Linked DNA regions of Homo sapiens: all the other regions are linked to region 1. The links are contacts of gene promoters, found by promoter capture Hi-C in blood cells and fetal thymus (Javierre and others, 2016). All regions are on one chromosome and are shown on one strand. The core of a region is centred on a gene start or on the middle of the fragment in contact, and the rest is flanking DNA. Distances in the headings are between cores, read along the strand shown. Region 1 holds the start of SLFN12L (schlafen family member 12 like). Region 2 overlaps RFFL (ring finger and FYVE like domain containing E3 ubiquitin protein ligase). Region 3 holds the start of RFFL (ring finger and FYVE like domain containing E3 ubiquitin protein ligase). Region 4 overlaps RAD51D (RAD51 paralog D). Region 5 overlaps FNDC8 (fibronectin type III domain containing 8). Region 6 overlaps UNC45B (unc-45 myosin chaperone B). Region 7 holds the start of SLC35G3 (solute carrier family 35 member G3).

What was found. Contacts are between HindIII fragments. The CHiCAGO score rates a contact against its expected background, and 5 or more counts as called.
Region 2: a contact is called between a fragment that was not itself captured here and the fragment with the promoter of SLFN12L in region 1, in 4 of 17 cell types (non-activated CD4 T cells, activated CD4 T cells, total CD4 T cells and 1 more). The highest score is 6.6, in non-activated CD4 T cells.
Region 3: a fragment that was not itself captured here is called in contact with the fragment with the promoter of SLFN12L in region 1 in 5 of 17 cell types (activated CD4 T cells, non-activated CD4 T cells, naive CD4 T cells and 2 more); the score reaches 11.0 in activated CD4 T cells.
Region 4: a fragment that was not itself captured here is called in contact with the fragment with the promoter of SLFN12L in region 1 in 3 of 17 cell types (activated CD4 T cells, naive CD4 T cells and total CD4 T cells); the score reaches 6.2 in activated CD4 T cells.
Region 5: a fragment that was not itself captured here is called in contact with the fragment with the promoter of SLFN12L in region 1 in 2 of 17 cell types (naive CD4 T cells and fetal thymus); the score reaches 8.0 in naive CD4 T cells.
Region 6: a fragment that was not itself captured here is called in contact with the fragment with the promoter of SLFN12L in region 1 in 16 of 17 cell types (naive CD8 T cells, M0 macrophages, M2 macrophages and 13 more); the score reaches 72.9 in naive CD8 T cells.
Region 7: a fragment that was not itself captured here is called in contact with the fragment with the promoter of SLFN12L in region 1 in 12 of 17 cell types (non-activated CD4 T cells, total CD8 T cells, naive CD4 T cells and 9 more); the score reaches 17.0 in non-activated CD4 T cells.

What each region holds. Positions count from the first base shown.
Region 1 is chr17:35,535,873-35,539,355 of GRCh38, reverse strand. It overlaps SLFN12L (schlafen family member 12 like), which reads left to right and starts at 1,678. Exons shown (of 5, transcript NM_001363830.2): 1 at 1,678-1,783. RefSeq lists an enhancer at 2,271-2,350. The HindIII fragment of the contact is 3,143 bases long and covers 1,380-3,483 here.
Region 2 is chr17:35,038,159-35,041,641 of GRCh38, reverse strand. All of the region lies in intron 1 of RFFL (ring finger and FYVE like domain containing E3 ubiquitin protein ligase), which reads left to right. The region is part of intron 5 of RAD51L3-RFFL (RAD51L3-RFFL readthrough); the gene reads left to right. Among named protein-coding and RNA genes, the nearest start is that of RFFL, 24 kb to the left of the region's middle. The HindIII fragment of the contact is 4,406 bases long and covers 1-3,483 here.
Region 3 is chr17:35,060,394-35,063,876 of GRCh38, reverse strand. RFFL (ring finger and FYVE like domain containing E3 ubiquitin protein ligase) reads left to right here and starts at 170. Exons shown (of 7, transcript NM_001017368.2): 1 at 170-301. All of the region lies in intron 5 of RAD51L3-RFFL (RAD51L3-RFFL readthrough), which reads left to right. RefSeq lists enhancers at 1-88, 1-333, 1-619 and a silencer at 329-398. The HindIII fragment of the contact is 1,520 bases long and covers 1,221-2,740 here.
Region 4 is chr17:35,103,587-35,106,175 of GRCh38, reverse strand. The region is part of intron 6 of RAD51D (RAD51 paralog D); the gene reads left to right. All of the region lies in intron 2 of RAD51L3-RFFL (RAD51L3-RFFL readthrough), which reads left to right. Among named protein-coding and RNA genes, the nearest start is that of RAD51D, 15 kb to the left of the region's middle. The HindIII fragment of the contact is 2,462 bases long and covers 109-2,570 here.
Region 5 is chr17:35,125,320-35,128,802 of GRCh38, reverse strand. It overlaps FNDC8 (fibronectin type III domain containing 8), which reads right to left. Exons shown (of 4, transcript NM_017559.4): 2 at 1,386-1,761. NLE1 (notchless homolog 1) reads left to right here. Exons shown (of 13, transcript NM_018096.5): 13 at 1-73. Among named protein-coding and RNA genes, the nearest start is that of FNDC8, 5.4 kb to the right of the region's middle. The HindIII fragment of the contact is 1,166 bases long and covers 1,143-2,308 here.
Region 6 is chr17:35,178,499-35,181,981 of GRCh38, reverse strand. UNC45B (unc-45 myosin chaperone B) reads right to left here. Exons shown (of 20, transcript NM_001267052.2): 18 at 1,306-1,423. Among named protein-coding and RNA genes, the nearest start is that of SLC35G3, 14 kb to the left of the region's middle. The HindIII fragment of the contact is 8,641 bases long and covers 1-3,483 here.
Region 7 is chr17:35,194,156-35,197,638 of GRCh38, reverse strand. SLC35G3 (solute carrier family 35 member G3) reads left to right here and starts at 3,246. Exons shown (of 1, transcript NM_152462.2): 1 at 3,246-3,483. The coding sequence starts at 3,332. The HindIII fragment of the contact is 550 bases long and covers 976-1,525 here.

The DNA.
Region 1 (3,483 bases), core at 429-2,928:
TTTCTTTCTTTCTTTCTTTCTTTTTTTTTGAGTACAGGGTTTCATTCTGTCGCCCACGTTGGAGTGCAGTGGCGTGATCTTGGTCACTGTAACCTCCGCCTCCCGGGCTCAAGTGATTCTCCCGCCTCAGTCTCGCGAGTACCTGAAATTTCTGACATGCACCACCAGGCCTGGCTAATTTTTGTATTTTTTGTAGAGACAGGGTTTCACCATATTAGCCAGGCTGGTCTTGAACTCCTAACCTCAAGTAATCTGCCCGCCGCAGCCTCCCAAAATACTGAGATTATAGGTGTGAGCCACCGCGCCCGGCAAAAGGGCTGCATGGTTTGCATCCTCCTTGGGGATGTCTCTTACATCCATGGTTAAGTGATAAAAGGCTTATAGGTTTTAAGCCATAAAAACTTACTGGTTTTGAGTCACAATTAAGACAGGTATACCTTTGAAGATTTGAACTTTTATATCTAAAAGGATTTTTTTTTAAAAGAAAGCTGTCATCCTAAACAAATGTCTATGGAAAGATGAGATCGAAAGAAAATATTAATAGGCAAAGATGAGAATCAATTTTTATCAAAATTATTAAATTTTGTGTTTATGTATACCTAATCATGGCTAAGATTTTAAATGAAAATTATAAGATCTATTTGTGTCTGTCTTTATGTTTATGCCTATATGTGTGTGTTGTGTATATGTGATATGTCTCTACCTCCTGATATTGCACCACTACTTGACAGTATAATTCAGAATGTCTGGGGAAGGACCTTAGCATCTGAATTTTTAAAAAGCATGCCAAAAGATTTGAACAAGCAGCCAAGATTGGGAACTAATTATCTGATTAACGAATGACATCTCTAATTCAATTCCCTCTAGTGCACAGCACCTTTTCTTATAGCTAAAAATGATTGCTAAATCCACACTGTAATAATTTTTTCAATGTATAAGGATAGAAACCCAAAAAAAATGGAACAAGAAACCAACAAGAGCTCAAGGGAATTGTGACTCCTACAGCTGTTGAGGGAGACAGCAGGTCAAAAAGTAGCAGAAACTTGATCAGAACAATAGCAACAGTATTAGCAGCTAAATTAATAGCAGTGAATCCATCTCGGCTCTAATTACAACAACTATTAGGATTATGGAGGCTACTATAAAAATTGAATGAGAAAGTCAGTGAGATGCACTGTTTAATTTCCTTTCTGGCTCTTTCACTGTTTCTTTTTGTTTTGTTTTTTCCCTTTTCCTTGCCAATAAAAAATATTTGTTGAGTAACTCAGGCCTACTGTACAAAGTAACAATTCTCTCCTCCCTTTCCATCTTCTTCCTCTCCAGTTCTACTTCTGAGAAAGTAATCCTTAATAACAGTTTGGTGTGTATCCAAAAAAGCTTTTTTGTAGCATTATTCTCCAAAGTGTTTGAAGCATTTCTTCTGATAAAGTTTCTTTAGTCTTTAGCCAGAACTAGTCTTTGGCCCACTTAGTCTATTGATAAACAGGAAATAGCACATATTCCCCCCTTGAGGCTAGAATGGCAGGCCTAAAATGAGTAGGAGAATTCTGAGAAATGGAAACTTTAAAAAGGCGGCAACCTTCTAGTTTCATTCTCAGAAATACCAAAGCAGCATTTTTCCTGGACTTGTTCTGCAGAGCGCTCAGATTTGAAAGCCATTTCTAGCCTTTGAGGATTACCACTGTCCTCAGCCAAACTGCAGGGACTCCTAAGTAGATCAGAGCTCCTGGAACTTTCTCATCTTTTCAGCATCTCAACCCTGTGGAATCTTTTAACTCCCAAGGTAAGTACAGATTGTCCAGAGAGATCTAAGCCATGCTTATTCAATGGAATGGAGAGTCTCTCAAAGAGACCTCATAACTCTAAGATGAAAATCTCCTCTGTGGCTACAGACTTTTCCAGATATACCCACTTTAGGCAAGAGAGGATGAAGTAGACACTTTAGGTCTACACTTTTAATAAATAAGTGAAATAGACAATGAGAGGAGCTGGTCCTTAGACTGTACTCACCTTGTAGCTGAGGCCAGGGATGTAGGACTCAAGCCCAGAGGAACCTGGCTGGGCTGAGAGAAAGAGATGTAGAGGGTTCTCATAGTTCTGGGGAACAAACCTTCAGATAAGACAAGTGAGGAGACTTGGGAGGAAGGGATGCCTGTGAAGATTCTCTTTTTTTTTTGAGACAGGTTCTCACTCTTTCGCCCAGGCTGTCGTGCAGTGGTGCGATCACAACTCACTGCAGCTTCGACCTTCCAGGGCTCAAAGGATCCTCCTGCTTCAGCCTTTGAAAGTGCGGGGACTACAGGCACTGAGCGTGAGGGTGCCTGGCTAATTTTTTTCGTTTCTGTAGAGAGGAAGTCTTGCTAGATTGACCAGGCTGGTTTCAAACTCCTGACCTCAAGTAATCGTCCCACCTTGGCCTCCCAATGTGCTGGGATTATAGACATTAGCCACCGTACCCAGCCTCGCCTGTGAAGATTCTTTAGCAGTTAGCTGATTGCTTCATCACTATGAAAAGGGGTTTCTTATTTTTCTTATTTTTTTTTTTTTGAGACAGGCTCTCACTCTGTCACCCAGGCTGGAGTGCAGTGATGCAATCGTGGCTCACTGCAGTCTCAACCTCCCTAGGCTCAAGTGATCCTCCCGTCTCAGACTCTCGAGGAGCTGGGACTATAGACCATGCACCACCACACCCAGCTAATTTTTTTATATTTTGTAGAGACTGGATTTCCTTGCTCAGACTGGTCTCAAACTCCTGGGCTCAAGCAATCTGCCCACCTTAGCCTCCCAAAGTGCTGGGATTACATGCATGAGCCACTGAGCCCAACTGTGTTTTTTTGTTTTTCGTAATATATAAACTATTTTGTTTTCAGAGAAACTTAAGCTATATTGACTGGGAAACTGTGATCTAGTTGGATTTAGATATAATGTTTGCAAATGTGTCACTGCATTGGGTCTTTTTGTTTACCAACATTAATTAAAGCAGATACTTGTGAAGGCCCTAGATGTTCTGTCTAGCTGTGTTTTTACATGTGACTTTTGCTTGCCTGTGTTTAACAGAAATAGACCTATGTTTTTCTTGTTATCAAATGTGTTTTATAAAATAAATGCTATCACAAATACCAGGGAGATTATTCCAGAATGGTTATTCTTACCAGAGTAATGAAAACTCTCTTGTCTTCCAAGAGGCCTAATAATTTGGGAGACCAGTTTGCACAATGATTAAGAGTCTAGATTTTTGGCCGGATGTGGTTGCTCATGCCTGTAATCCCAGCACTTTGGGAGACCAAGGTGGGAAGATCGCTTGAGCCCAGAAGTTTGAGAACAGCCTGGATAACATAGCAAGACCCCATCTCTACAAAACAAACAAACAAACAAACAAACAAACAAACAAACTAGCCAGGGCCGGGTGTGGTGGCTCACGCCTGTAATCCCAGCACTTTGGGAGGCCGAGGAAGGTGGATCATTTGAGGTCAGGAGTTCAAG
Region 2 (3,483 bases), core at 484-2,983, 500 kb after region 1:
TCCTCCCCCATTTACACACACCAGCTCGGTGTGAAGAACCGAAAGGTCACACTACCTTTCGGTTCTTCACACACCAGCCCACTATGGCTTGAAGTTAACGAGTGAGAAAAGTAGCACGGCATGAATTGGAGAAGTGGTCAGGGTCTTTAACCATGTAAGAAGTGATTATTTTTATTCTAAAATGCAATAGGAGTCCATTAAAGAACTTTTTTTTGAAGAGTTTTTAAACATTTTTATGTACAAAGAGTTAACATGATTTCTTTCATTGGGTGGATGCCTTGGATAATCCATCCAAGGAAGATCACTTCTAGGAACAAGCAACATTAAAGAGCTTTAAGTGTGTGTGTTGAGGGGAGGAGGGCAGTGGGTGATGCCTTGTGGAGAAATAGGTGGATAGAGGCAAGAATTAAAGCTAGGAAACCCGTTAGGAGGCTGTTCTTTTACCCAAGAAGCCATTCTAGACTCTGGAAATTCGGTAGAGCACAAAGTCCCTGCCCTCATGGGGTTTCTATTCTAGTTAGGGAAAGCAGTTAATAAATAAGCAAATAATATCAGCTAATACCAAATGTTATGGTGAAATTAGAAAATGACATTAAAAGGCTGGTCGTGGTAGCTCACACCTGTAATCCCAGAGCTTTGGGAGCCTGACGCAGGAGGATCCTTAGAGCCCAGGAGTTCGAGATTACAGTGAGCTATGATCAAGCCACTGCACTCCAGCTTGGAGAGAGACCCTATCTCTCTCTCCCTCACACACACACACACACACACACACACACCAAAAAAAAAAAAAAAAAAAAAAAGACATTAAAGCTGATGTTTGGATGACAAGAAGGAGCTAAGCATAGGAAGTTCTAGGGAGACCAATCCAGGCAGAAGGAACAAACAACAAATCTAAAGGGCCTAAGGAGGGAAATGTGATTAATATATGAAAGATGATGTTTTAACCCACCAGCAGGAGCAGGGGAGATGAAGGTAGGAATTTATGCATCTTTGATTTAAGAAAAGTATTTTTTATTTTTTTTTTACTTTTTTTTTTTTTGAGAGAGAGTCTCGCTCTGTCGCCCAGGTTGGAGTGCAGTGGCATGATCTCAGCTCACTGCAACCTCTGCCTTCCAGGTTCAAGTGATTCTCCTACCTCAGCCTCCCAAGTGGCTGGGACTATAGGTGCCTGCCACCATGCCTGGCTAATTTTTTATATTTTTAGTAGAGACGGGGTTTCACCATGTTGGCCAGGCTGGTCTTGAACTCCCGACCTCAAGTGATCTGCCCGCCTTGGCCTCCCAAAGTGCTGGGATTACAGGTGTGAGCCACCACACCCGGCCAAGAAAGGTATTTAAAGCAACCTGAGGTGTGGTTGGAGAGGGAGGCCTAAGACAGCCTGGACACTCACAACATTTAAGAACAGAGGGAGGGGTAAGAAGCAGCAAAAAGGCTTTGAGGTAGGAGGAAAGCCACGGGGGCAGAGTGCTAGAAGCTAAGAGATGTTTAGAGGGGGAGAGTCGCTTGTGTCCAGCATTGCTGAGAGATTAAGATGAGGATAGAGAAGTGTCAATTAGATCTGGCCACTTGGAATTCCTTGGTGACCTTGAAGAGATTAGGAATGGTGGTTGGCTCAAGCTAGATTGGAGAAGGTTTAAGAGTGAATTAGAGGTTAAGAAAGTGGAGTCGGCCAGATGCGGTGGCTCATGCCTGTAATCCCAGCACTTTGGGAGGCCGAGGTGGGCAGATCACCTGTGGTTGGGTGTTTGAGACCAGTCTGACCGACATGGAGAAGCCGTCTCTACTAAAAATACAAAATTAGCTGGGCATGGAGTTGTATGCCTGTAATCCCAGATACTCGGGAGGCTGAGGCAGGAGAATTGCTTGAACCCGGGAGGCAGAGGTTGCAGTGAACTGAGATCGTGCCATTGCACTCCAGCCTGGGCAACAAGAGTGAAATTCCGTTTCAAAAAAAAAAAGTGGAGTCAAATATTTGGAGAAATTTGATTTAGAGGAGATCACAGAAAAAGAGCTTTACTGGGGAGGGGGAGAATGTGGGGTCAAAATGGGGTTTTATTTTTTATTTTTTTGTTATTTTTTACAAATTACAAATATTTGACTAGGTGCTTTAAAAAATCTGTCATTGGCTGGGCGTTGTGGCTCATGCCTATAAGCCCAGCACTTTGGGAGGCCGAGGTGGGCGGATCATGACGTTAGGAGATCAAGACCATCCTGCCCAACATGGTGAAACGCCGTCTCTACTAAAAATACAAAAATTAGCTGGGTGTGATGGCACGTGCCTGTAATCCCAGCTACTCGGGAGGCTGAGGCGTGAGAATCGCTTGAACCCAGCAGGCGGAGGTTGCAGTGAGCCGAGGTTGCGCCACTGCACTCCAGCCTGGCGACAGAGCGAGACTGCGTCTCAAAAAAAAGAAAAGAAAAAAATCTGTCATATGGGCTGGGTGCAGGGGCCCATGTCTGTAATCCCAGCACTTTGGGAGGCTGAGGCGGGTGGATTGCTTGAGCCCAGGAGTTCGAGATCAGCCTGGGCAACTTGATGAAACCCCATCTAGACAAAAAAATACAAAAAATTAGGTGTGGTGGTGCGCGCCTGTAGTCCCAGCTACTCGGCATGCTGTGGCAGGAGGATCACGTAAGCCTGGGAGGTCCAGGTTACAGTGAGCCATGGTCGCAACACTGCACTCCAGCCTGAGCAACAGAGTGAGACACCCTATCTCAAAACAAAACACAACACTCATATAAACTTTTAATTCAAATGTAACTAGAGAAGTATATAAATTATAAGTGTACAGTTCGATGAATTTTTACAAAGTCAACATATCTACATAATCAGCATTCAGAGTAAGAAACAATGTTACCAGAAGCCCCTTGGGCTGCCTTCCATCTGTAATCCTACCTCACAGGATGACCACTATCCTGATTTTGAACACCATAGTTTGCCTGTTTTTGAATTTTATGTAAAACGAATCATTTCCCATGTATTCATTTATGCCTCCTGCTTTTGCTCAACATAAGATTCATCTGTACTATTGCATGTATCAGTTGTTTGTTTTTTCTCATTGTTCTGTGAACATATCATAATTCTACCGTTGATGGACACTTCAGTTGTTTCCAGCTTGAGGCTATTACAGTAGGGCTTCCATGGATATTCCTGTATACTGTTTGGGTGAATGTATTTCTGTTGGGTATATGCCTGGAAGCAGAATTGCAAAGCCATGGAAAGAGATGTGGGTGCGCGTGTATATGCACGCGCGCGCACACACACACAAAATTTCCAAATTGGAGTAATTTACACTTCCACCAGCAATATTAGAGTTCCAGTTGCTCTTTTTTCCTTTTTTTTTTTTTTTTTTTTGAGACAGTTTTGCTCTGTCATCCAGGCAGGAATGCAATGGTGCGATCTGGGTTCACTGCAACCTCTGCCTCCCAGGTTCAAGCGATTCTTCTGCCTCAGCCTCCTGAGTAGCTGGGATTATAGGCATG
Region 3 (3,483 bases), core at 731-3,230, 480 kb after region 1:
TCAGTGAGCTGCCTCTTCTTTCCTAGGTTGCAGTTGACTGCGGTTGGTTCAGGCTGAGTTGTTTGGGAAGTACAAATTTTGCCCAGCGTGAGTCAGCACTGCCCTGGGTAAACTCCCTGCTGTGTTGCAATCTTGCTTACCAAAGATACATCCCCAGGCGGCACCATTCACTTCACATGAAAGCCGCTGCTCTTGGTTCCTGAGATGATCTCATCTGAACATGGCTCCAGCGACCTCAGCCACAGGAACTAGAGACAGCTTGCTTTCTGTCGTGGCAATGTTTTGAAACTGGCAAAATCAGGTAACCTCAAACTGTTTTCTTAAGTTTCATTAGCTAGATGAAGCTGCATTAGAAACTGGGAAAATCCTGTCTTCAGAAGTGAGTCAGGTTTTTTTTTTTTTTTTTTTTTTTTTTTTTTTTGAGACGGAGTTTCACTCTTGTTGCCCAAGCTGGAGTGCAATGGTGTGATCTCGGCTCACTGCAACCTTCACCTCCCGGGTTCAAGTGATTCTCCTGCCTCAGCCTCCCAAGTAGCTGGGATTATAGATGTGCGCCACCATGCCCGGCTAATTTTGTATTTTTAGTAGAGACAGGGTTTTGCTGTGTTGGTCAGTCTGGTTTCGAACTCCCAAGCTCAGGTGATCCACCCTCCTCAGCCTCCCAAAGTGCTGGAATTATAGGCATGAGCCACGGCCCCCGGCCAGAAGTTTTCTTTCATTTGAGTTCTGGATGTGGAGTTAGGTCCAATTAAATCACTGATTATATAAATCTTAGAAAAGTAAAACGTTAGGTTTACAGCTTTATCCGTCATTTGCTCTTGTATTTTGTTTTTTTGTGTGTATCTTGTGAGAAACACTTTAGTCAAACTAAGCCATTGTTAAAGGAAAAGAAGTGAAGGCATTTGGTTGCCTTCCTAATAACTAAATATTGAGTTGTGGAGAACACTGTCTTATCAGTGAGTTTGTTCCCATATTCCTTTCTGAATTAATAGGAAGAACCTCCCTCATCTCTAATTCTACTAGGCTACTACTCTATCTCCCTCCTGCTTTTCATCGCCAAACTTTTGAGTCCTTCACCTAATCAGACTATGATATCTCTAGGTAGTCGTCACCCTCCAAATTACGTTTCTGCTCCTTATAATTCCAACAAATTGCCCACGTTCTCTTTCACCTCAGACCTTAGCATATGTAAGCGTTCTTTTACACACCTTCCCCAAGCTTAATCTGGCCAACTGGTTTCAGCCTAGAAGTCACCTCTTCCATGAAGCCTCTTCTTACTTACCAGGGTTGAGTACTCAGGAGAACCTGGTATTTACTCCAATCATAGTATGTATTGAGAATCAGGGTCTGCTTTGCTAGAATTGTATCCATGGTACGTTGCACATAGTAGGTTCTCAGTAAGGGTAGAATGAGCAAGAGCCTGTACTGTACTTTCTCAACTCTGATCCTCTCATCAACTCTTTTTTTTTTCTTCTGAGAGGAATCTTGCTCTGTCACCCAGGCTGCAGTGCAGTGGTGTGATCTTAGCTCACTGCAACCTCTGCCTTCCTGGTTCAAGCGATTCTCCTGCCTTAGCCTCCTGAGTTGCTGGGACTACAGGTACGTGCCACCACGCCCAGCTAATTTTTGTATTTTTAGTAGAGACAGTGTTTCACCATGTTGGCGAGGATGGTCTCGATCTCTTGACCTCATGGTCCACCTGCCTTGGCCTCCCAAAGTGCTGGGTTTACAGGTGTGAGCCACCGCGCCCGGCCTTGTTCATTCTTTTTATGCTCACATCTTTAAATGTGCTAAACCCTGTTGATTTTGTTGGAGTACTGTTTGATGTGTGGCTTTTCTTCATTCCCACTGTCATTGCCTTAATTTACCAGAGGTCAAAACTGGACGTTTAAAGTCAGGCTGGGCACGGTGGCTCACGCCTGTAATCCCAGCACTTTGGGAGGCCGAGGTGGGCAGATCACCTGAGGTCAGGAGTTTGAGACCAGCCTGGCTAACATGGTGAAACCCCATCTCTACTAAAAACAAAAAATTAGCTGGGCGTGGTGGCACGTGCCTATAATCCCAGTTACTCAGGATGCTGAAGCAGGAGAATCACTTGAACCCAGGAGGTGGAGGTTGCAGTGAGCGAGGATCACACCACTGCACTCCAGCCTGAGCAACAGTGAGACTCCATATCAAAAAAAAAAAAGAGTTTGAGACCATCCTGGCCAACATGGTGAAACCCTGTCTGTATTTAAAAAAAAAAAAAAAGGCACGCCACGCATGGTGGCCAGTGCCTGTGGTACCAGCTACCCAGCAGGCTGAGAAAAGAGAATTGCTTGCACCCAGGAGGTGGAGGTTTCAATGAGCTGAGATTGTGCCACTGAACTCCAGCCTAGGCACAGAAGAAGACTCCATCCCAAAAATCAATCAGTCAGCCTAAGGGCTTAAAATTTTGTGTGTGAATACTTTTAGGCACCATCAGAGAGAAGGCCTGTACTCTTCAAAGATTACGGATACCACCATTTTCTGACATCTTACACACTGAAGACTTAGCATTTTACCTGCATTGCCTCTAGGAATTTGAGTTTGTAACTCCTAGTTCAGACCCTTATCAAATGGCCACTCCTCCATAAGTCTTTCCTTGCTCCTATCTTCTCCATATTGTTGCCCAAGTTATCTTTTTAAAGTCCACATCTAATCTTTTCATTTAAGGTGCCATTTGTTCCCTGTTTTCCACTTAGCTTGACTTCTAAAAGCTTTCACAGTTGGATTCTTTCCTACATGTTGCTGTTAACCATCTCATCTCCCTCTCCCCTGGCCATTTCTCTCCTCTCCAGCTTCACTGAACTTCTCATGTTAACATTCCATGGATATACCATGTCTTTTAGGACTCTGCCTTTTCCCAATGGACTCTCCCTTCTCTAACTGGCAAGATACTCATCCCTCAGGACACTTAGTTCATATATGCATCTTCTCTGACTTCTCTGTCTTTTCTGACAGACAGCACTGTCTGTCTCTTCCACTAGACTGTTGAGTTCTTTGACTGAACTTGGTGTCCCTGGACTAGAGCTTGGCACCATCAGAGAGAGTGGCTGACGTGGATCTCCGGGCTCAAACCGTTATTCTTTGCAATATTAGAAGCTTTTTTGTTAGATGGCATGGTTTTTCATTCCTATTTGATGAACATGAGCCCATGGCTGCTTATTTTGTATGTGTTACCTGCCACCATCAAGTAATCATTCAAAGTTAATTTGAAGATTTAAAGGGTTTGCTGAGATCTAGTCCCGCAATATCACGACATTTTTATGGTGTTTTACAAAATTATTTCCCTCATATGGTTTTATTTGCGTTGGGTAGGCTTTATTTATTATCCCTATTTTACCAGTGATTATAAAGCTAGTCTGATACCAAAGCATATATACATTTAGGTAAGACTCAGAGAGAAAACATGGTTCTTACACTGCATTAAGCAGCTGGTTTGTCTCTTAATATAGTAGTTAA
Region 4 (2,589 bases), core at 90-2,589, 430 kb after region 1:
CCCTGAGTGGAAGGATCATGTCATATTTATGTCTGCATTCCCCACTAGGTGAGTGAGGAATACTTTTAGCTGCAAGTAATAGAGGTTGTCTGACAGAGACTTGAAGCTTGAGGACATTTAATTATGTCACATGAGTTGGGAGGTTGGCAGGTCCATGCTATCAGGGCAATAGATTTGTGTGTCTGATTTTCTTGTTCTTCCCCTCATGGTTGCAAAGAGGCTGCCAAAGCTCCAAGCATCTTGTCTTCACACATCCACATCCATATTCAAGGCAGTAAAAGATAGATGGTTCTTTTCTGTACCTCCTCCCTTTTATCAGGGATGAAGAATCTTTCTCCAGAGCCCACTAATAGACGTCCCTCTTCCCCTTACATCTAGTTGGCCAAAATGGGGTTATGTGTGTATCTTGGACTAAGACCTGGGCCCACCATCCCTGAAGTCAGATTTCTGCCCAGTCGCTGAACACATTCAGAGTCATGTTAATGGGAAGGATTTAGAATGGCATTTGGGTTGGCACTTTGCTACTCATGTTGGGTGCTTAGACAGGATTTGGTGCACTGATTTATAAATGACTAGATGTGGAGGATACCTTAAAGATAGAATAGTTTATCTCAAACTTTTCCTCTCACCCCAAAGCATGACGTGTTCACACGGGCATCCCCACGACTATATATAAAGTCAATGATTTTTACAAACTTTAGAACATATAATAGTTGAACAAGCTGGGAGTGGTGGCCCACACCTGTAATCCTAATGACTCCAGAGGCTGAGACGGGAGGATTGCTTGAGCCTAGCAGTTGGAGGTTGCAGTGAGCTATGATCATACCACTGTACCTTAGCCTGGTCAGCAGAGCTAGACCCCGTCTTTAAAAAAAAATGTTGAACAAATACTTACCTCAGAAGTCATAGCTGGTTATGACCCACCAGCTTGTTGAGACATGAAGCTGAGTAGTGCTTACCTCACTTTTAGAGATGAGAAGAGTGAAGGCCGGAGAAGTGAAGTGAGTTGACCAAAGTTGACCAAATATTTAGGGCAAGAACTAACCTTATAGCCCAAACCTCTCAATTCCAGATCAGAAGACTGTATTTTTTACTGTAGGACCATTAGATGATATATCTTCTATTATTGCATAATAAGTTACCAAAACCTTAGTGGCTTAAGACATAGTATTTCTTATCTCACAGTTTCTAGGGGTTAAGAATCTGAGACTAGGAGCGGTGGCTCACGCCTAAAATCCCAATGCTTTGGAAGGCCAAGGCAGGAGGATCACTTGAGCCCAGGAGTTCAGGACCAGCCTGGGCAGCATAGCAAGACCCTGTCTTAAAAAAAAAAAAAAGAAAAAGAAAGAAGAAAAGAAAAAGAACCAGAATCAGGATATAAGAAGTAAGGGAGAAGAGAAAAGAAGCATCAAAAACAGTTTAAGTCCAGGGAAACCAGGAGGATTCTCCTGCTTGTGTAAAGACAGAAAATTATGGTTAGAAAGATGGCACAGGCTAGGCTTGGTGGCTCATGCCTGTAATCCTGGCATTTTGGGAGGCCAAAGTGGCCAGATCACTTGAGGCCGGATTTCGAGACCAGCCTGGCCAACACGGTAAAACCCCGTCTCTGCTAAAAATACAAAAATTAGCACCCGTAGTGTGCACCCAATGTGTGCACCCATAGTCACAGCTACTTAGGAAGCTGAGGCATGAGAATCGTTTGAACCGAGGAGGCAGAGGTTGCAGTTAGCTGAGATCATGCCACTGCACTCCAGCCTGGGTGACAGAGCAAGACTTAGGGAATTTATTTGGAGGCATTTTAGATACGGAAGATGAGGCCTAGAGGCATGATCTAGAAGGAGACAGTGAAGTAAAGAGAAGGCTAAACTCTTCAGCAAAGGAAGTTAGGAATTTGAGGGTGGTAGTTAGCAGGACAAGGGAAAGAAAGGAGGGAGTCAGAAAAGGAAAAGAAGGGCCTTACCACCATGGTGGGAGGCTGGACACAGGAGAGAGATGGCTGCTGAGAGATCCATGACCAGAGGCCTCAGGACTCTCTGCGGAGCTTTCTGAAATTTGATGACTTTAATGTAGTTTTTAGTTATTTTATTTTATTTTTTTTGAGACAGAGTCTTGCTCTGTCGCCCAGGCTGGAATGCAGCGGTGTGATCTCAGTTCACTGCAACCCCCGCCTCCCAGTTTCAAGCGATTCTCCTGCCTCAGCCTCCTGAGTAGCTGGGATTACAGGTGTGCACCACCACGCCCAGCTAATTTTTGTATGTTTAGTGGAGACGGGGTTTCACCATGTTGGCCAGGCTGGTCTCGAACTCCTGACCTCAAGTGATCCACCGCCTTGGCCTCCCAAAGTGCTGGGATTACAGGCGTGAGCCACTGCGCCCAGCCACTTTAGTGTAGTTTTGATGTCCTGTGATTTAAACCCTTTCTTTCTACCCAAGTCTTCATTGAAGTCTGTTACACATGCCAATGGGACGAGGGAGACATTGCTGCTGATGACATTCTGTGATGCCCGTGCAGCTTGCTGTATTTGGGATGGGGGGGCTATTTCTTACTAGTTTTAGATAGAAAAGCAAGCTTGTCCTGTAATGTGTCCTA
Region 5 (3,483 bases), core at 476-2,975, 410 kb after region 1:
ATTATATATTACAATGTAATAATAATAGAAATAAAGTACACAATAAATGTAATATGCTTGACTCATCCTGAAACCATCCCCCCAACCGGATCCATGGAAAAATTATCTTCCATGAAACCAGTCCCTGGTGCCAAAAAGGTTGGTTCTAGACTCTGTCTAGACTCTGTTAGCTGAGAGGGACCTTAGAGATCATCTTATCGACTAGGTCCAGAGAGGGCAAGTGACTGGTCCATCATCATACGGCAATTAAGTGACAGCCAGTGTTCAAACCCATAGCTCCAGAGCCCATACACTTTGTACTACAATGGTTGCCAAGCCTGGCTAAGCATCTCAGGGAGATTTTGTAACTGCAGATTTCTGGGCCTGCTGCCTCCTGTCTGGTTTCTCCTCCATCTAGGCCAGTGTTTGTCAAACTTGGTGTGCATTAGAATACCCTGGAGGACTTATTAAAAGATAGATTACTGGGCTCCGCCCCAACAGTTTCTGACTCAGGAGGCCCAAATGTGGTGGAGGGAGATGAGAATTTAAATTTGTAACAATTTGCTGAGTGATGCTGACATTGTCCATCTGGAGAGCACTTTGAGAAACACTGCTCTGGGCCATCCAACAGTGGAATTCCAGGCATCCTCCCAAGATACAGCTCGAATTGCTTTCATCATCTGATGTGAAGCTTTTTACAAAGCTGTTCCCTATTACTTACAGAAAAGTCTATAAAGTAGTCTAACACTGGAGGACTCTGGAAGATGATCCCAGACTAACATTCCCCATCCTGTCCCCTGTCTTCACTTCCCATAGTGTAGGACGGTGTTGTTCGACGTGTAGCCCGCGGACGGGGAGCCACAGCATCCTCTGGGAATCTGTTACTAATGCAAATTATCAGGCTTCACCCTAGACCCTCTAGGGAGGAGGCCCAGCAATTCTGAGTAGCCTCACTCGATCCCAGGTCCTCATCCAGGGCTTCTCACGCTTTCATGTTCCTACAGATCACCTACCATCTTGTTCAAATTGAGATTTCCTCCCTCACTTTCCTGTGAGCTTTTGCTAGGGTCCGCCCCTCCAGGGAATGCCTCCCTCCTCCACCTCTAGATGTTTACATGCTACCTCTACATCCCAGCTCAGATGTTACCAAAAGCCACCAAGCTTATTCCCGCATCTGGAAATATCTTTCCCTCTGAATTCCTGGTGGCACTTGCTCTGAACTTTTCCTACAGCACTGAACCCTTTCTGTCTTGCACTGGAGTTTTTACAGACACATCCTCTCCCTTCCTAAACCGTGAACTTGAGGTCGACATGCAGGTGGCAGGCACCTTCTCACTACCCATGGAGCTCAGCTCAGTGCCTGGCACAATAAGCCTCTGCTGAACGCATGAGCAAGGGAAACGCACCACAGCTGTGGAATTGTTGACGGTGTGCTCAAAGATGAAGGGGGTGTCCGGCAGGTCCACAACCACAGAAGATTCTGAGTGCGTTGAGGAGGTTTCTGTCTCCAGCTCAGGGTTGTCAAGGTCCAGCAGGCCCCTTGTGGCCATCTGGGACTTCGATGGGCATGGGCAGGGGCCGAGCGCCAGGTCCTCATTTTCTGCATTCTTGGCCATTGGGGAGAAGCTGAGTTTGTTCAGCTCCCCCTCCAGCATCCCTGCAAAGAAGCTGCTGTTGGGCTGGGTCACAGCTAATTTGATGGGGTTCAGCAAGGTGGATGAGAAGGCAGAGATGCTGGTCTCATCAGAGCTGCAGTCTGAATCCTCTACTGGCAGCGGCTTCCTGGAGCAAAAGGGGAGACAGGTGAATCAGATGAAGGAGGCCACCCCAGCCCGTTCCACCTGAGGGCAGGCCTTGGGCCTGACTTACCAGCATCCCCAGCCATTTGCAAACAGCTTGGAACAGCCTCATTGCTCTATAGCATTGCATTAGACTCACCAGGGCACTTACTAAAAATGCAGACTTTTAGTCCCTGGTCCCCAGTTAGCATGGGACTAGAGAATCCGCATCTTTAATAAGATCCTGGCTGGGCGCAGTGGCTCACGCCTATAATCCCAGCACTTTGGGAGGCCGAGGCAGGCAGATTCAAGGTCAGGAGTTACAGACCAGCCTGGCCAACATGGTGAAACCCTGTCTCCACTAAAAACACAAAAATTGGCTGAGTGCGGTGGTTGGCACCTGTAATCCTAGCTACTTGGTAGGCTGAGGCAGGAGAATTGCTTGAACCCAGGGGGCAGAAGTTGCAGTGAGCCGAGATCACACCACTGCACTCCAGCCTGGGTGACAGAGTGAAACTCTATCTCAAAAAAAAAAAAAAAAAAAAAAAGCTTAGAAAATCCTGATGCAAGTGTTCTGCAAACCACAATTTAAAAAACATGCTAAAATGGCAAGTCCTCCCTCCAAAGTGGGGTGCAAATGCCCCAGGGAATAACCACAAAGATCTACTGGGGTATGGAAGTAATACATTCAATTTCACTAATGTTTATTTACTATTGTTTAAATTTTAATGGAATTACTAATATTTACTTACATTTTAGTGGCATTTAATAATACCTATTAATATCTAGCACGTAAAATTAACAGAAATACAAATACATATATGGGCCAGGCGCGGTGGCTCACACCTGTAATCTCAGCACTTTGGGAGGCCAAGGTGGGTGTATTACCTGACGTCAGGAGTTCAAGACCAGCCTGGCCAACATAGCGAAACCTTGACTCTACTAAAAATACAAAAAATTAGCTGGGCATGGTGGCGGTTGCCTGTAATTCCAGCTACTTGGAAGGCTGAGGTGGGAGGATCGCTTGAGCCTGGTAGGTGGAGGTTGCAGTGAGCCGAGATCCTGCCACTGCACTCCAGCCTGGGCAACAGAGTGAGACCCTGTCTCAAAAATAAAATAAAACAAATATACATATGTTGGTGTGGATGCTCAAAAACTTATTTCTTCCACTCTGAATTTTTTAAAATTATGAAGTATTTTAGACTTATACAAAAATATCAAGAATATTATATTAAACCTCCATTTACTCCTCATCTACCTTTAGAAATAAAATCTTATCACTATGGGTAAAGCCCCCCAGACACTTCTGTCTCCCACCAAAGTCCCCATCCTTCGACCGACAAGTAATGAGTACAGTAAAGTTTAAATTGTGTATTTATTACTCAATGTGTGTCTTTATAGGTTTCTTACATATTTATGTTATCCCTAGGCAAGATCTATTATTTTTCACGTTTGTAGATGTTGTACAAATAAAAGATATTATTCAGCACATACCCATCTGCAACATGCTTTTTTCACTCAACTTTGTGTTGACATTCATCTATCTTGATACATGTAGCTCTGGTTCAGTCGTTTTTACTGTTTTATGATTTTCCATTACATGGATATTTGTTTTTGTTTTTGTTTTTTGAGACAGGGTCTCCCTCTGCTGCCCAGGCTGGAGTGCAGTGGCACAAACTCCCAGGCTCAAGCCATCCGTCCACCTCCACCTCCTGAGTAGCTGGGA
Region 6 (3,483 bases), core at 718-3,217, 360 kb after region 1:
CCATAGGAAAGGTTGCCTCCCTCCTCCCATTACCTCTCTCAACCTCTCAGCCTCCCCGCCCATCTCCTTGGACACACTCTCTGTCTCCCCTATGGCTGCCAGGCCCCCAGCCCAGCCTTAGGCCAGTTCCCTGGTAGACCCTGGTAGCTTCATTCCCCCTGACTTTAATATGCTTTTTTTTTTTTTTTTTTGAGATGCAGTCTTGCTTTGTCACCCAGGCTGGAGTGCAGTGGCATGATCTCGGCTCACTGTAACCTCTGCCTCCCAAGTTCAAGTGATTCTCATGTCTCAGGCTCCCGAGTAGCTGGGATTACAAGCACCCACCACCATGCCTGGCTAATGTTTGTACTTTTAGTAGAGACAGGGTTTTGCCATGTTGGCCAGGCTGGTCTCGAATTCCTGACTTCAAGTGACGCATCCACCTCAGCCTCCCAAAATGTTGGGATTGCAGACATGAGCCACCATACCTGGCCTTTAATCGGCTTTAATGGGTTAGGTTTTCCCCTATAACAGTGAGAAGGTCTAAGGTTCAGGTGTTGAGGGTAAACAGACTGGGTCTCACGCTAGCCCCTATGTGAGGGCCCAGGAGGGACATTCGGCTTGGCCCTCATGTTAATGAAGGGCCTCAAACTTAGACCCTGCTGTTATCTCTGATAAGATTACACATACAGTCACAGCAGTACTCTGACAGGATGGGGAGAAGAAGACATTCACCAGATGGGTATCATTTGTCCCATGACTGGACCATGAAGCCTACGGCATGTTCTGAATTCATTTTATTTTTATAAACCCTGTAATTATTCTGTGCTGAGTACAGTTATATTGCATTGCAATTTCTATGGGAACAGTGGTAGTTCATTAAATGCTGACATTTGAGACATCCTAAAATGGCTGATAACTGTATTTGGCATTTCTTCATTTTTTTTATATATGTGGAGCTTCAATAAATGCAAGTGGTCTAGCCTTCCTTGACCTCTGAGAGGCCCTGGTCTCATATCCTGCTTTGTTTTAAGGTTATTTGGGCCTAAGTAACTTAGGGAAATGGTGCCTTCCACCTCATCTAGCCCAGGGTCTGGATTGAAAGCCCCAGCTTTGTATTTTTTCCTTTATGCATATCTTTCTCTCAGGGCCCCTACAGGGAGGGGGGCTATAATCTAGGAAATATTTAGGGATTCCTGGATTTTCTGCCCAAAATGCTACCTTAATGCCATCATAAGAGCTCCCGATCTCACCCCAGGCCCTGACCCTGGCCTGCCTCTCGTGCCTTGATCACGCCCGGGTCTCCATCCTGAGCCCCTGCCTCACCTCCTTGTGGAGCACCATGTTGCACATGCACTCGGTGGCCGCCTGCCGCAGCTGATCATGATTCTCAAACATGTAGTTCTCGATGTCTGGCAAGGCCCTCTCCTTAAAGATCTTCTGCCTAGGGTAGGAGGGTGGAGGAAGAAAGACCCTTGAGTCTTCTGCCGTGACCATAGGGGTTTTCTGGCCACCCAGGGACCATTCTTCCATTCTGGTGCTGTCCTTCCCACATCCTCAGCCAGCATGGTTTATGTGGCATCACACTGCCCCCAGCTCTAGGAGGGGCACCATGGGCCTCAACTAAATTGTATAGCATGGCATCCTGGCCACAGCAGTGGGTTCTGGATATCACCCAACTGGAGAGCCTCTGTATTATTGCAGTAAAGAAATTCTCTCTCTCTCTCTCTCTCTCTCTCTCTCTCTCTCATCCTGGATGTAGATCCAAGAAGATGTGAAGGCCAGAACTGCCCTTATAACCATGAGAGAGCAGAAAAGCCCATTGAGAATTAAAGCAATACAGAAAGGAGAGGAGAGACAGAGAGAACAGGAACCTAAGGCAGCTTTGTAAGCCCTGCATCAAGCCACACCTGAATCTTGTTACCCCAGACTTTTTATCTACATGAGCCAATAAATTTCCTTTATGCTTAGGCCTATTATAGTTAAGTTTTCTGCTACTGGCAACCAAAAGAATCCCAACCCAGTACATGCTGACATACTCCTGCTTCCAAAGAGGAATACATTTTATCCCACTATCCACCTGGATATCTTTTTTTTTTTAATACTTTAAGTTCTAGGGTACATGTGCACAACGTGCAGGTTTGTTACATAGGTATACATGTGCGTGCCATGTTGGCTTGCTGCGCCCATCAACTCGTCATTTACATTAGGGTATTTCTCCTAATGTTATCCCTCCCCCAGCTCCCCACCCCCAACAGGCCCCGGTGTGTGATGTTCCCCGCCCTGTGTCCATGTGTTCTCATTGTTCAACTCCCACCTACGAGTGAGAACATGCGGTGTTTGGTTTTCTGTCCTTGTGGTAGTTTGCTCAGAATGATGGTTTCCAGTTTCATCTATGTCCCTGCAAAGGACATGAACTCATCCTTTTTTATGGCTGCATAGTATTCCATGGTGCATATGTGTCACATTTTCTTAATCCAATCTATCATTGATGGACATTTGGGTTGGTTCCAAGTCTTTGCTATTGTGAATAGTGCCACAATAAACATACGTGTGCATGTGTCTTTATAGTAGCATGATTTATAGTCCTTTGGGTATATACCCAGCAATGGGATTGCTGGGTCAAATGTTATTTCTAGTTCTAGATCCTTGAGAGCCAAATCATGAGTGAACTCCCATTCACAACTGCTACCAACAGAATAAAATACCTAGGAATCCAATTTACAAGGGATGTGAAGGACCTCTTCAAGGAGAACTACAAACCACTGCTCAACAAAATAAAAGAGGACACAAACAAATGGAAGAACATTCCATGCTCATGGATTGGAAGAATCAATATCATGAAAATGGCCATACTGCCCAAGATAGTTTATGGATTCAATGCCATTCCCATGAAGCTACCAATGACTTTCTTCACAGAATTGGAAAAAACTACTTTAAAGTTCATATGGAACCAAGAAAGAGCAGGCATAGCCAAGACAACCCTAAGCAAAAAGAACAAAGCTGGAGGCATCATCAGGGTCAGGTATCACGCTACCTGACTTCAAACTATACTACAAGGCTACAGTAACCAAAACAGCATGGTACTGGTACCAAAACAGATATATAGACCAATGGAACAGAACAGAGGCCTCAGAAATAACACCACACATCTACAACCATCTGATCTTTGACAAACCTGACAAAAACAAGAAATGATGAAAGGATTCCCTATTTAATAAATAGTGCTGGGAAAACTAGCTAGCCATATGTAGAAAGCTGAAACTGGATCCCTTCCTTACACCTTATACAAAAATTAACTCAAGATGGATTAAAGACTTAAATGTAAGATCTAAAACCATAAAAACCCTAGAAGAAAACCTAGGCAATACCATTCAGGACATAGGCATGGGCAAAGACTTCATGACTAAAACACCAAAAGCAATGGCAACAAAAGCCAAAATTGACAAATGGGATCTAATTAAACTAAAGAGCTTCTGCACAGCAAAAGAAACTATCATCAGA
Region 7 (3,483 bases), core at 1-2,500, 340 kb after region 1:
GGGAGGCCAAGGTGGAAGAACTGCTTGAGCCGAGGAGTTCACCTCTACCAAAAAAAAAAAAATTTTTTTACCAGGTTTGTCAATGCATGCCTGAGGTACCAGCTACTCCAGGAGCTGAGGTAGGAGGATTGCTTGTTTGGGCTCAGGAGTTTGAGGCTGCAGTGAGCCATGATTGTGACATTCATTCCAGCCTGGGAAAGAGAATGAAACCATGCCTCAAAAAAAAACAAAAAACATTAAAATTCATACAAAACTGCAAAAAAAAAAAAAAAAAAAAAGCCAAGGCAATCGTGAGCAAAAAGAAAAAAAGCTGGAGATATTTGCTTCAGAGCTCTCTGAAGTTGAAAAAACTGGAGGTATCACACTATCTGATTTTAAACTATACTACAAAGCTATACTAATTAAAATAGTATGAAATAATCGCTTCTCTGCCTTTTGGCTAAGATCAAGTAAGTGTAAAACAGCATGGAATTGGCAAAAAAGAAAAAGACACATCAACCAATGGAACAGAATAGAAAGCCCAGAGATGAATCTGATTTTCAACAAATATGCCAAGAAGAAAAAGACCGCTTTTTTCAATAAATGGTGTAGGGAAAACTGAATTTCCACATGCAGAAAAAGAAAATTGGACCCTTATTTCAACACCATATACAAAAGTTAGTTCAAAATGGATTACATACTTAAACATTCCTGCATTAGTTTGCTCAGGAAAATTGCCAACAAAAAAAAAAAAAAAAAAAAAAAAAGGAAAGAAAGAAAAAAAAGAGACCTTTAAGACCAAGAACCTAAAACTGCTAGAAGAAAACATAGGGGATCAGCTGACAGCCTCCTTTAAAAAAAAAAAAAAAAAAGAAAGAAAACATAGGGGAAACATACAAGACATTGGTCTGGGTAATGATTTTTTGGATTTGTTCCCAAAAGCACAGACAACAAAATTAAATATAGACAAATGGTATCATATCAAAGTAAAAAGCTTCTTGGTTCATGATGTGTAGCTAAAACAAACAAACTAAAAACCTTCTGCACAGCAAACAATCAACAGAGTAAAGAGATAACCTATGGAATGGGAGAAAATATTTGCAAGCCAGACATCTGATAAGGGGTTAATATCCAACACATATAAAGAGCTCAAACAACTCAATAGCAACAAAACAAAACAAAAAAGCAATTAAGACCTGCTTTCTGCTGACCAAGTCTTCTTCCTTACCCCTCCCTAATAAGAAGAAAAAAAGGCAATTAAAAGATGGGTAACTCCTCCTTAGTATAGTGGTAAAATTTAAACATTAAAAAAGTTTTGGGACCAGTCTGGTCACTCACACCTGTAATCCCAGCACTTTCGAAGGCCAAGGTGGGCAGATTGCCTGAGCCCAGGAGTTCAAGACTAGCCTGGGCAACATAATAAAACACTGTCTCTACAAAAAAAAAAAAAAAATTAGCTGGGCTTGAGCCATGTTTGTGTCACTGCACTTGAGCCTGGGTGAGAGAGCGAGACCCTGTCTCAAAAAAAAAAAAAAAAAAAAAAGCTTTAAGTTGTAAAAAAAAGTGGGTAAGATCAAAAGAAGAGAAGGAAAGAAAACAATGTATAAGATACCTGAGCTCTCCCTCTCCCTCTCCCTCTCCCCACGGTCTCCGTTTCCCTGTCTTTCCACGGTCTCCCTCTGATGCGGAGCCGAAGCTGGACTGTACTGCTGCCATCTCGGCTCACTGCAACCTCCCTGCCTGATTCTCCTGCCTCAGCCTGCGATTGCAGGTGCGCACCGCCACGCCTGACTGGTTTTCGTATTTTTTTGGTGGAGACGGGGTTTCGCTGTGTTGGCCAGGCTGGTCTCCAGCTCCTAACCACGAGTGATCTGCCAACCTCGGCCTCCCGAGGTGCCGGGATTGCAGACGGAGTCTCATTCACTCAGTGCTCAATGTTGCCCAGGCTGGAGAGCAGTGGCGTGATCTCGGCTAGCTACAACCTCCACCTCCCAGCCGCCTGCCTTGGCCTCCCAAAGTGCCGAGATTGCAGCCTCTGCCCAGCCGCCACCCCGCCTGGGAAGTGAGGAGCGTCTCCGCCTGGCCGCCCATTGTCTGGGATGTGAGGAGCCCCTCTGCCCGGCTGCCCAGTCTGGGAAGTGAGGAGCGCCTCTTCCCGGCCGCCATCCCATCTAGGAAGTGAGGAGCGCCTCTTCCCGGCCGCCATCCCGTCTAGGAAGTGAGGAGCGTCTCTGCCCGGGGGCCCATCGTCTGAGATGTGGGGAGCGCCTCTGCCTGGCCGCGACCCCATCTGGGAGGTGAGGAGCGTCTCTGCCCGGCCGCCCCATCTGAGAAGTGAGGAGCCCCTCCGCCCCGCAGCTGCCCCATCTGAGAAGTGAGGAGCCCCTCCGCCCGGCAGCCGCCCCGTCTGAGAAGTGAGGAGCCCCTCCACCCGGCAGCCGCCCCGTCTGGGAAGTGAGGAGCTTCTCTGCCCGGCAGCCGCCCCGTCCAGGAGGGAGGTGGGGGGCAGCCCCCGCCGGGCAAGCTGCCCCGTCTGGGAGGGAGGTGGGGGGTCAGCCCCCGCCCGGCCGCTGCCCCGTCCGGGAGGTGGGGGGCACCGCTGCCCGGCCGCCCCTTCTGGGAAGTGAGGAGCCCCTCTGCCCGGCCACCACCCCGTCTGGGAGGTGTACCCAACAGCTCATTGAGAACGGGCCATGATGACGGTGGTGGTTTTGTGGAATAGAAAAGGGGGAAAGGTGGGGAAAAGATAGAGAAATCAGATTGTTGCTGTGTCTGTGTAGAAAGAAGTAGACATGGGAGACTTCATTTTGTTCTGTACTGGGAAGGGTTCTTCTGCCTTGGGATGCTGTTGATCTGTGACCTTGCCCCCAGCCCTGTGCTCTCTGGGGCATGTGCTGTGTCCACTCAGGGTTAAATGGATTAAGGGCGGTGCAAGATGTGCTTTGTTAAACAGATGCTTGAAGGCAGCATGCTCGTTAAGAGTCATCACCACTCCCTAATCTCAAGTACCCAGGGACACAAACACTGCAGAAGGCCGCAGGGTCCTCTGCCTAGGAAAACCAGAGACCTTTGTTCACTTGTTTATCTGCTGACCTTCCCTCCACTATTGTCCTATGACCCTGCCAAATCCCCCTCTGCGAGAAACACCCAAGAATGATCAATAAAAAAAAACAAAAAACAAAAAAAGAAAGAAAAGAAGCAGAGTTGGACTCAGTGGGAAAATAGGCGTGCTACCACCTCAGGAGAGTTCCAGGGAAGAATCCCACCCCCACTCCAATGAGGTCACAATGGCTGGAGCTCTGAGGGGCCCAGGCTCCCTGAGCCAGGAGGAGAGGAGAAAGTCCAAGGAAAGATGGCTGGCAGTCACCCCTATTTCAACCAGCCTGACTCCACACACCCATCGCCGCCCTCCGCTCCACCCAGCCTCCGCTGGTACCAGCGCTGCCAGCCCTCTGATGCCACCAGTGGCCTGCTGGTGGCCCTGCTGGGTGGGGGCCTGCCTGC